Linked DNA regions of Homo sapiens: all the other regions are linked to region 3. The links are contacts of gene promoters, found by promoter capture Hi-C in blood cells and fetal thymus (Javierre and others, 2016). All regions are on one chromosome and are shown on one strand. The core of a region is centred on a gene start or on the middle of the fragment in contact, and the rest is flanking DNA. Distances in the headings are between cores, read along the strand shown.

Region 1 (3,553 bases), core at 920-3,419, about 13 Mb after region 3:
TCTCTCAATACATTTTTCAGCTGATATTTACATAGATAGAATTTATTTTGCATCTTCAAAATATGCAACATTTTAAACTAAATGGTTTGCTGGAAAAGCTTCACGGTGCTTCCAAATACAATTGGTAGACCATCAGGATCACACCAGTCACTTTGTGGAGTTTTGGAATGTCGACAAAGGAGAGGTACATCCGTGATGTTTCAGTCTTGGGCCACTGCTACCACACACAAAGCAACTGTCTGGTGACAATTACATTAAATATGAGGTGACCAAGAAGCAATGCTTTAAGCCTTTTACATCTTAACATGTTATTAGTAGCTGTTATTTATAAAACATCTAGCTGCCATATTGTGATCTAGGAAATTAGTAGGGTTTTTTTTAATTAACTTGCCACGCCTTATAATTCTGCTGTTTAAAATAATGGGAAACAGGTTCTCATTAGGTTTTTCCTTGGAAAGAAAATGTGACATTTCAGTCATAGATTACATTTTGACTTTTTTTTTTTTTTTGAGACAGAGTCTCACTCTGTCGCCCAGCCTAGAAGTGCAGTGGCGAGATCTTGACTCACTGCAACCTCTGCCTCCCAGGTTCGAGTGATTCTTCTGCCTCAGCCTCTTGAGTAGCTGGGATTACAGGCATGCGCCACCACACCCTGTTAATTTTTGTATTTTTAGTAGAAAGCGTTTCACCATGTTGGCCAGGGTGGTCTTGAACTCCTGACCTCAGGCGATCTGCTCGCCTCGGCCTCCCAAATTGCTGGGACTACAGGCGTGAGCCACAGCACTCAGCCAGATTACCGATGTTTTTAGTGGCAGATGACTTTCCGGCCTTGTCTTAGTTTTAATTTTTTTTTTTGAGATGGGGTCTTACTATATTGTCCAGGGTGGTCGTGAACTTCTGAGTTCAAGTGATCCTCCCACCTCAGCCTCCCAAAGTGCTGGGACTACAGGCGTGAGCCACTGTGCTCGGCCAGATTACTGATGTTTATAATGGCAGATGACTTTCCAGCCTTGTCTTAGTTTTATTTTTATTTTTGGAGATGGGGTCTCACTATATTGCCCAGGCTGGTCTTGAACTCCTAAGCTCAAGTGATCCTCCCACCTCAGCCTCCCAAAGTGCTGGGATTACAGGCATGACCCACTGTGACTGGCTTAGTTTTAAATTCTTAATTATTTACCTTGTAAACTACTTAATTCCATTTCTTCCACATCTCATAGAAAAACTGATGTTCCAGGAAGATGTATCACCAATATTCTGCTGTTTTGTATCCTGCCAGTGCAGAATTGGGGCTGTGCCTCTCTAGTTTGAGAAGCATGTAGTAACATACTTGATTTTGCCCTGATCAGTAACGTACCGCATGCTGGGAGCCGCAGTCTCTTAACCGCTCCAAGCCCGTGACAGAAAAACGAAATGGAAAAATGACTTAGGAGAATTATCACTATTAACCCCCAGAAACAACACATTATTAAAAGCGGTTCTGAAGGGCTATTTAAAAGGGAACTCAATAGTAGTTTCAAAGGAGTCCTATTGTAAGGCAAAAATTGTGCTTTACCTTCCCGCACAACCTTCCCTAATGTTTTGGGAAGGACTGATACAAACTTTTAGTCCTGTTGGCCTGTGTTAATAATGGCCAAGAGGTCCCCAATGGGTAACAGAGTCCTGTGAACCAAACAGTGTGAGAAGTCAGAAAGCAGCTGGGTGTGGCCCCCAAAGCAGCTTAGGGGGTTACTTAACTGTGCGGCTACATTTCTTGACCATATACTAAAGGAACTGGGCCTTTCCATGCGATGTTTTCCTTTTATAACGGTGGCAGGAAGCGGTCCCTCTGAGGGGCCTGACCGAGGTATGCGCCGGCGCCAGGCTGGGGTCCAAGGGGCGCTCCGAGGCGGGGCCCACAGAGAGGGTTTAGGGCAATTCCAAGGGATGGCGGGGACGGAGGAAAAGTGGCGTTGAAAAGGCAAGAGCCAGGTTCCCAGCCACTGGGACAGTGAATTTACAGCTTCAGACATCCACCAAAGAGCGGCTGCGTGGGCTCCTAAGAAGTCTAAGAACTGCTCAGAAATCCAGCGCCGCCATCCCCACTCCACCGCCGCCAGGGGCGCACAGCAGCGGGTATGCGGCCGGAGGGAAGGGGCGGGGCGGGAGGAAGGGGCGGGGCGTGCCCCGCCAGCGGAGGCCGGGAGGACCAGGAACCCAGGAGAGCATGGCCACGCTGCGCCGGCTTCGGGAGGCGCCGCGGCACTTACTGGTTTGCGAGAAATCCAACTTCGGCAACCACAAGTCGCGCCACCGGCATCTTGTGCAGACGCACTACTATAACTACAGGGTGAGTCCGGCTGTCCTCGGCTTTTCGGGCCGTGCTCAGTCCCCGCGTGCGAGAGAGGTTTGGGGAGAGTGCTAGGCTTCGCGGGGCGGGGCCGCCGGCGGTACGCGGAGGGGCGGGGCCCTCGCCCGGCTTGCTGGGAGTTGTAGTCTCTTAACTGCTCTAAGCCAGTGGCTTGCAGGGCTACAGGACTACAACTCCCAGGATGCGCCGGGCGTGGGGGCGGTACCCAGTCTGGAGGGAGCTGTTGTCAGGGGCGTTCTGGCTGCTCACTCGTGTCAACCCGCCGAACTGGGAGTGAGTCCAGGGAGGGATTCGAGGTTCAGGGCCGGGACCAGGGAGTTAGGCTGTGGGGCAGCCACGTGCACCTCGCTTTTTCCCCAAATCAGGGCGGGTCTCGCGCCTCCTCCCCACCACTGCCTCCTCCCCAGCTTGAATCCCTCTCCCACCTGCGTACCTGTGGATCTCACCAGAGCATCCTGCCTAGGCTCGGCCCAGGAAGCGACTGATTTTCCTTTTTTTTTTTTTTTTTTTTTTAGACGGAGTTTCGCTCTGTCGCCCAGGCTGGAGTGCAGTGGCGCGATCTCGGCTCACTGCAGGCTCCGCCTCCCGGGTTCACGCCATTCTCCTGCCTCAGCCTCCCGTGTAGCTGGGTCTACAGGCGCGCGCCACCACGCCCGGCTAATTTTTGTATTTTTAGTAGAGACGAGGTTTCACCGTGTTAGCCAGGATGGTCTCGATCTCCTGACCTCGTGATCCGCCCGTCTCGGCCTCCCAAAGTGCTGGGATTACAGGCGTGAGCCACCGCGCCCGGCCGAAGCGACTGATTTTCTAAATTGGTTGTTGGAACTAATTTGATATCTGAGAGACTTCAAGAAACTAACCTTATCATGGGGGATTAAACATTTTACACTTTAAATGGATCAGCTTAATAACTCAGGTTTGACTGAGCAGTGTTTCAGAGATGTTAAGTGGTGACCTGATCAGTCAGAACAGGCTGGTGTTTGAGCCTTGGGACAGTGATGACTTTTACAATGTGGCAACATTTGAAGCCTGCCCTGTTTTTAACACCTATTTTGGATGTCAAGCTCATCACAGCAGTCAGGGATGTATACTTTAACTCGCCTGTTGCATTTTTCTGTCTCGAAAATGAAAACATACAGGAGCACCATTGCTTGCACATAGATTCTTAGTAATTGGATGTCCATAAATTAATTCCTTATGCCCCGA
Region 2 (3,713 bases), core at 1-2,500, about 16 Mb after region 3:
CCCGTATATTTCACAGACATTTCTAGCTTATAGCATGTTCCTCTCAATGGAAGTGTTCCCTCTCCTCAGCTTCAGGGTCTCTTCATCACTCAGAGGCACCATCAGATGTTTGTTGAGCCATTCTCCTCATAGAACGCAGAGGAGAGGCCAGGTGTGAAACCAGACCAGTCTATCTATAGCTAAGAAATATTCCTAACGGACCTCGAGGAGCGCGAGAGGGAGGTTTTAAATGTAATCCTGAGCTTTTCTGATTTTGGGGTTCCAGGTCTGCTATACATACTCTTGCACGTTATATTGGGCACAGCCCTAGTAACTCTGTGATTTGAAATGATGATCTGAAGTTATCGATTAGGGAGAGGAATGTGGACAGAGAAGCAGAGCAACGGAGACCGGGAAGTTTCCGTCTGTGTCCTGGATTGCAGCCAACTGCTTAGGCACACACACCTGCTGCCCTCCCGGCTCTGAGTCACCTCCTCTCCTCTCCCTGTCCAACGAGCAGCTGCCAAATGGCAGCCAAATCCAACAGATGTAAGCCGGGACCCCACCTGTGTTTGAATTACTTTCTTTGAAATCTGCCACGTCCAGGTTTATTGACCCGGGCAGTCTTTTCAACATTTCCTTATGCCGCATACGGGTGGGGCTAGGGACTTTCTTGTGCACTGGCAGTCCTCAGAAGAGAAAACTTTGAATTCAGCTATTTGGAACCTCGTTACTGGTTCCGAGCCTCAGGAAAGGCCAGAAGAGCGAGAGCCAGCCTAGTTAGTCACTCCCACATCTGTGACCCCCGTTTACGGGCCTTGTACGCTACTGCCCTTCAGGTACCATAAACCGGGCTTCTCAAAGGGCACTGCAACAGGTTTCCAGGAATTATTTATCAAAGTCCATGACCCCGGCCCTGTGACCCCTGGGTTTGAAAATTCAGACCTTCAGCCTAACGGAGAGGTCGGCTCAGCGTTCCTCCCAGCATCCTCGGGCGATATTAGGGTCCTGGGAGATTCGGGAGGCCACTGCGTCCAGGCCCCCCACGGCCAGCCAGGCGAGAGGCGGGACGCGAAGCCGCGGCCTCCTTCCTCTTCCCTGAGGCGGTGGCGGCGGCAGGCCCCGCCCCTCCCGCGCGGTGGCCGTCGGCGGAGGGGCGGGGCCTGCTACAGCGTCGCCGGCTGACGCGAATGACGCTGCGCCAGTCAGGCCGCAGCCCCGCTGCTTGGCCCGTCGGGCCCGCCTTGGCCGGCTCGGCCCGCCCCCGGCCCTCCCTGCACGGCCTCCCGTGCGCCCCTGTCAGACTGTGGCGGCCGGTCGCGCGGTGCGCTCTCCCTCCCTGCCCGCAGCCTGGAGAGGCGCTTCGTGCTGCACACCCCCGCGTTCCTGCCGGCACCGCGCCTGCCCTCTGCCGCGCTCCGCCCTGCCGCCGACCGCACGCCCGCCGCGGGACATGGCACACGCACCGGCACGCTGCCCCAGCGCCCGGGGCTCCGGGGACGGCGAGATGGGCAAGCCCAGGAACGTGGCGCTCATCACCGGTATCACAGGCCAGGTGAGTGCGGGGGCGGGGGCGCGCCGGCCGAGGCAGCCTGGGCACGCGTGCTCTCCCTACGCGCCGCTACTCGTGGGCTGCGGTCTCTCCAGGAACAGCCCTCTCGGCGTCCCGGAAGGGGTCTGCTGCCGGGAGGTGGGACGGAAGGTACGGTGCAGTTAGTGTGTTGCGTGTGGGGTGTGCGGGATACATCGAGCGCCTCTGGTCTTTCTCTGGGGGCTGTGAGCGTGTGTGCCGCGCGGGATGTCGCGCTCACACCCGGGCAGGACCGCCCGCTCTCACCTGCCCCTCAGGTGACCGCAGCGTCTCTTCCTCCAAGCCCATGTCGTGCTTCGCAGCTCCTAGTGCCGGAAAGGGAAAAGAACCGGTGATCAATGAACTTGCGGGTGAGGTCTTCTTGATGTGTCTCGGCTCAAGGGGCGCTTACCTGCTAACGTTTGGGAAGCAAGAAAAAGGGTGCTTTGCTGGTTTCGTCCCCTATCACCGGATTTCCAGATAGAAAAGAGAACATGAAAGAAAGTAATGCTGTGGAGTCACCTACTAGGACATGTTTAGGAAAAAGAACTTAAAAAACTTTTTAAAATCACGCCAACTTCTGAGATTCAGGTTGACACATTTGGAAGTGTATCCGAGGCACACTGGTCCAAAAGTGCGGCTAGTTCCATTTTCAAAGGAATAAGTTCGTCGAGTAAGGTAATCAAGAGGAGGTCTTCGGAATGTCTCAGGCTAAGCATGGCTGGTTTGTGAGGGTCGCCTCTTAGAGGTGTTGCAGTAGGTGGGATCCGACCGCTGTGTCTTACCAAGCTGTGCTGTTTTAGATTCAGTGGTCATGAAGTAATCGTGCCCACATATTGCTGTAGAAAGAATGTGATGTGTGTGCTCCTGGGTATCTCTGGGTGGTGGCCAATATAACACTGAGATAAAGGTGATAATGGCTAATACATATTGTGTCTATCATGTTCCAGTCGCTTGCCTAACATTAACTCATTTAGTTCTCATAACAAACTCTTTGAGGAGGTACTTTTATTATCTCTATATATGTGGAAACTGAGGCATGGGAGTTTGATTTGCCTGAGGTTAAACCGCTGGGAAGTGTCCAGTTGGTATTGAAACCACTCTCAAAGTTCTCTAGTGTTAGAAAGGGCTAAGTGGGCAGGAGGCAGCGGCTCATACTTGAAATCTCAGCACTTCGGTGTGCAGAGGTGGAAGGATTGCTCGAGGTGAGGCCAGGAGTTTGAGACCAGCCTGGGCAACATATTGAGACGTTGTCTCTACAAAAAAATTTAAAAAATGAGGCAGGCATGTTGGTGCTCACCTGTAGTGCTAGCTACTCAGGAGGCTGAGGCAGGAGGATCACTTGAGTCCGGGAGTCTGAGGCTGCTGCAGTGAGCAATGATGGTACCACTGTACTCCAGCCTGGGGCAAGAGAGTGAGATCCTGCCTCAAAAAAAAAAAAAAAAAAAAAAAAAAAAAAAAAGAAGGAGAAGTTGAAATTGGCCAGATGCACAGTCACAGAATATTACACAATTTCAAGTATTGAATACCTGATTTACTGCTGGTTATTCATGCATCTTGCTTTGCTTAAGGTAATCATAATAGACAAGAGTTTGAAAACTAGTAAGAGGTGGATCTGAGTTTGAAAACTAGTAAGAGGGCAAGGATCTGAGGTTGAGAAATTGAATCCTTGAATTGAGGCAGTAAGACAGGTCAGGGCCTACATACTGTCCTCCCCCTTCTCTTTGTTTTCTAATGCTGGGACCTTTCTGCAGATGATTCCCTTTTTTCCATTTTGTCAGACTGGACCTGAAGCTCAAATGTTTACCAAGTTTACCTAATCTCTGGAAAGTAGAGATTTTATTTTAGTATTGTCCGGAAATTAGTTAAGATTAACATCTTAACTAATGTGCTGTGTTGGTGTGGCCTATACCAATTTACACGACCAGCAGTATGAATCAGTGCAGATTAGAAATGGAACCTAATTTTGACTTTTAAGAGCAGTCATTTGGCTGGAACTGAGTGGCCAGGAAGGTATGGAAGTGGGCCCCCACTCTAGTTTGTCCTGCAGCCTGTCATGGGAGTCTACCTGAAGCACCACACTCAGCAGACCACTCCCTGACTGGAATTTTTTGGTTCCTCATTTCATTTCCAACTTAAAACACCTGCATGGCTTTCAGGTTGG
Region 3 (4,028 bases), core at 89-2,588:
CCCAACTGGAGTGGACTGGGGAGTCCTGCAGGCTTACCCAAGGGAAGACTGGACTTCTATGTGGCTGGTTTCCACATCACTGAACCCCAACTTTCTACAGCTGGGTCGGCCTCTTCCTTCCTCTTTCACCTGTCAGCTGCCCGGCCGTTGACTAACAGCTACCCTAATCGGGCCACCCCTCCTCCAGGTCTCCAATCCCAGAGGAGTTACCCCAGCAACCTGGCAATGCTCATCAAGTCTCAACGCGTGGTGGCTGTGCCAGAGAATTACTACAACACCTGCAAGGCTGTGCGGGCTCCTGGCCGCACCCTATCGGCCGGGAAGAACAAGCGAGGGAGTTCCTACTCCAGGACCGTGGGGTTCTCCCGCGGCTCTGACAGTCCCCAGGAGGGAGCCCCAAACTCCCGGTGCCAGCTGCAGCCGCCTCGCTTTCCGAGAAGCTTTCGGAAGCTTTTCGAAGTCGGAGAAGCAACTGCCCCGGGGCTCACCTTTGCGCTGAAGAGGTGCCGGGAGTCTCGGGGAAAAGGCACCGCTGTACAGAAAGGAAACATTGTAGGGGGGTTAGCCGACCGGCAACATCGCGACGAACCCGGCGACCCCACGCCCCAACACCCTAGCCCGGGAATTCCCCCTTCTTCAGACAGATACCCACCCCGCACCCTCTTTTAATCCGGGGCAGGAGGTATCCGTCCCTGGGGCACCCGCCCACCTCCCACCACGGCGAGGGGCGCTGCACAGGGGGAAAGGGAGGGCTTGCACCCCAACCAAGCTGCTTTGTGCAACGCTGTCACCCGAAATCCGCCACGGCCCCCACGCACGCCCCCGGAGTGGGGAGCCTCCCACCTCTGAGCGCCAGCGAGGCGGTGCGCGCCGCCCTGGACTGCGGGCGCCTCTCCGGAGCCGCGCGCCGCGCGCACAGGACGGCTGCAGCCGCGCCGCGAGCCCCAGCCTCTTCTCGGCCGCCGCCGCCGCCGCCGCTTCCGCCCCTGTCACGGCGTGACCCGGGGTGGGAGGAGCCGACAGGACTAGGGATGGGTAGGGTCCCCGCCTTCGCTTTAGCCGCAGCGCTCGCTCCGCCCTGCCCATTTCCGCCGCTGCGCAAACCCCGGCGCTTGGGGAAGTGGGTGGAGTCTGTGCAACGAGGTACGGGGCGGGAGTGGAGACGGGGCGCCGGGAGAGGGGGCGGGAACTGAGGCGGGGCGCGGGAAAGAGGCGGGGCGCGGGAAAGAGGCGGGGCGCGGGCGGAGGCGGGGCGCGGGCGGAGGCGGGGCGCGGGCGGAGGCGGGGCGCGGAGAAGTGGCGGAGGTGGAAGCGGAGGCGTACCCGCCCCTGGGGACGTCATTGGTGGCGGAGGCAATGGCCGGCAACCAGCTGTAAGCGAGGTAGGCTCACTCGGGCGCGGAGGGTGCGGGTGAGAAAGGGAACGATTTGCTAGGAGTGTATGCGCCCGTGCTAGGGCTCCCAGGAATTCTTACAAGCGTAGACAGCCTAGCAATCAGCCCTGTGAAGTGGGGTTCAGGGCAGAAGCGGAAACTGGGAATAACGAGGTCGGACAGTAAATGACCTGAATCCAATGTCCAGGATTTAAAGTGCTTCCAAAGCACTGGTGTGTTTTAATTATTTTTTTTTCTTTTTTCTTTTAGAGACAGGGTCTCCCTCTGTCGCCCATGCTAGCGTGCAGTGGCACAATCATAGCTCACTGTAACCTGGAACTCCTGGGCTCAAGTGATCTTCCCGCCCCAGCCTCCTCGGTAACTGGGACTACAGGCTCGCTGCACCACGCTTGGCTAATTTTTCAAATTTTTTTTTATAGAAACGGACTCTCGGTTTTTTCCCCAGCCTGGTGTATTAGTGATTTTTGGGAAAAAATAAGTACTGCCAAATAGTGAGTGATCCCTGGTGATGTGGGAAACTGGGGTGCTGTAAATATTCTGTCTTGCTCTGCGGTGGTTACACAGGTGTATGTATATGTAAAAAATTCACCGAGTCATACTCTTTTAAGATGTGTGCACCTTAGGAAAGTTTCTTCTCAATTTTATGAAATTTAAAAACAAAACTATAGCAGAAGCTTTTGAAAAGGTGAGAATGGAGACTAGAACAACTTGAGGACTTTGTTTGTGGGCAGAAATTTTTGTGAAATTTCCCTTCCTTAATTCTTGTAATGTGCACTTTTTTTGTATTATAGAAATAAACTTTATTTCTCTAGAAATGATGTATACAAGTGGAGTCCATGCTGAGAAACTGTTAGAACAGCTAAGACGTTGAGCCCAGGAGTTTGAGACCAGCCTGGGTAACATAGCAAGACCCTGTCTCTACAAAATATTTAAAAATTAGCCAGGCATGGTGGTGCACCCTTATAGTCCCAGGTACTCAGGAGGTTGAAGTGAGAGGATCGCTTGAGCCCCAGTGTTGGAGACGGAAGTGTCATTACACCACTGCACTCCAGCCTGGGGGATAGAGAGAGACCCTGTCTCAAAAACAAACAACTAAGACATGATTAAGTTATGTGCATGATTTTGTTAGACAGTTCAAGTTTGTGTGAAAGGAATAGAGTTGTGCTACTCCAGGCTGCTGTGGAACTCTGATAAAGATTATGCTTCTCTTTTAAGTAGAGAACTGCTTTATGAAGCCTTGAATTTAGGTTCCAGAGTTTCTGAATGAAAATGAGAAAACTGCAACATTCTTTTGCTTTTCTGTACCCAATATAAATCAGATACTTTCTACTGACCTCTCAGAAAACTCAGAGTCACCTCCTGATACCATCAGGGTCTTGCAGAAGCCATTTGTCAACAAATATTTGCTAAGAAGTGAATTCATGTTCCCAGGTAATGAGAGAAATGCCTCCTCCCTATATCCTAAGCATACTGAGGCCAAATTTGGCAACAAAAGGGGAAATTTGCCTGAAATACATGCTTTTATGCAATGTTTGCTATTTCACAGATTAATCATTAAATTAGAACCACCAATAATAGCATGCTAGTATAATCCAAACTAGTTTCACTAATGATTTAAAGGGAATGTTAGAATAATGGTGTTATATTGTCCTTAATATTGCAGAGTTGACATTGAAAGGAAAGGCATTTTCCTCATACATTCAGATGGATCTGCAGTTATGGTCTGTCAGCTGAAGAATGAGAAGTTCATAATTTAGAAAGGAGAACTCTTTCTCATGAATGGTTTCAGACTGTAGAGCAGCCATTCTGACTGGCTGAGAAGTGTAGCCGCAGGCCAGAAGCCAGAAACTGACACTTCCAGGGAGGGGCAAAGGGAACAGGAATTTATGCTGAGGAAGGTGGCCAAATATACATATTCAGTAAGCTGTAGGATGACTCATGAATATTTATGAAAGGAGGAAAGTACCCATGAGTAATTGAGCTTCATGGGTACCATGCACAAAAAATGGCGGTGTTACCACAATCACAGGATGGAGTTTTTGGCCCTCTTATATCAAAAGGTGAAGCAGAGGACAGAAAAACCCTTACTGTGCATTCTCAGTAGACTGGCCAGAACCATTCTGTGGTCTGTGATCTCTTATCAGGCACAAAAGGAGGGGCAGCATCAGGGGGTTGGTTGATATCAGTGGTAGAATCTTTTGAAAGGGCTGGTTTCCCTTAAGTCCTTATAGAACAAAGCCTAATTGTGGTTAGCAAGAGAGGAGGTATAGAGTTGTATCTGACGCTCTATCTACTCTTGGCCCAGAACTCAGTTTTCAAGGTTACTCTGGGGTCCCGTTAGCCAAGAAAGTGTGTAGTGAGCCAAGATCGCACCACTGCACTCCAGCCTGGGCAACAAGAGCGAAACTCCATCTCAAAAAAAAAAAAAAGAAAGAAAGAAAAGGAAAGAAAGTGTGCCTTCAGTCAGTTGAGAGGCTTTGAATTTTATTGTTAGTTTACATTGTACATGTCTTTTTTCAGTTTCCTTAGTGTGCATTTCCCATGCAAAAAAAGAAGCTGTAGAAAATTATTTGAAAATACAAATGTGTGGAGTAGAGATAGGATATTGAACTATGGTTCAGTATCTACTTTAAT

Evidence for each region. Contacts are between HindIII fragments. The CHiCAGO score rates a contact against its expected background, and 5 or more counts as called.
Region 1: a contact is called between the fragment with the promoter of RPP40 here and the fragment with the promoter of TPMT in region 3, in 4 of 17 cell types (total CD8 T cells, naive CD8 T cells, total CD4 T cells and 1 more). The highest score is 10.6, in total CD8 T cells.
Region 2: a contact is called between the fragment with the promoter of GMDS here and the fragment with the promoter of TPMT in region 3, in 1 of 17 cell types (non-activated CD4 T cells). The highest score is 6.2, in non-activated CD4 T cells.

Annotation. Positions count from the first base shown.
Region 1 is chr6:5,002,653-5,006,205 of GRCh38, reverse strand. It overlaps RPP40 (ribonuclease P/MRP subunit p40), which reads left to right and starts at 2,169. Exons shown (of 8, transcript NM_006638.4): 1 at 2,169-2,326. The coding sequence starts at 2,204. LYRM4-AS1 (LYRM4 antisense RNA 1) reads right to left here and starts at 2,390. Exons shown (of 4, transcript NR_126015.1): 1 at 2,247-2,390. RefSeq lists silencers at 2,059-2,188, 2,319-2,568. The HindIII fragment of the contact is 5,117 bases long and covers 101-3,553 here.
Region 2 is chr6:2,243,142-2,246,854 of GRCh38, reverse strand. It overlaps GMDS (GDP-mannose 4,6-dehydratase), which reads left to right and starts at 1,250. Exons shown (of 11, transcript NM_001500.4): 1 at 1,250-1,534. The coding sequence starts at 1,433. It overlaps GMDS-DT (GMDS divergent transcript), which reads right to left and starts at 1,102. Exons shown (of 7, transcript NR_046229.1): 1 at 925-1,102. RefSeq lists a silencer at 978-1,607 and an enhancer at 1,108-1,608. The HindIII fragment of the contact is 5,746 bases long and covers 1-3,713 here.
Region 3 is chr6:18,152,387-18,156,414 of GRCh38, reverse strand. It overlaps TPMT (thiopurine S-methyltransferase), which reads left to right and starts at 1,338. Exons shown (of 9, transcript NM_000367.5): 1 at 1,338-1,382. It overlaps KDM1B (lysine demethylase 1B), which reads right to left and starts at 993. Exons shown (of 22, transcript NM_001364614.2): 1 at 844-993; 2 at 489-532. RefSeq lists an enhancer at 53-292 and a silencer at 733-1,292. The HindIII fragment of the contact is 1,618 bases long and covers 453-2,070 here.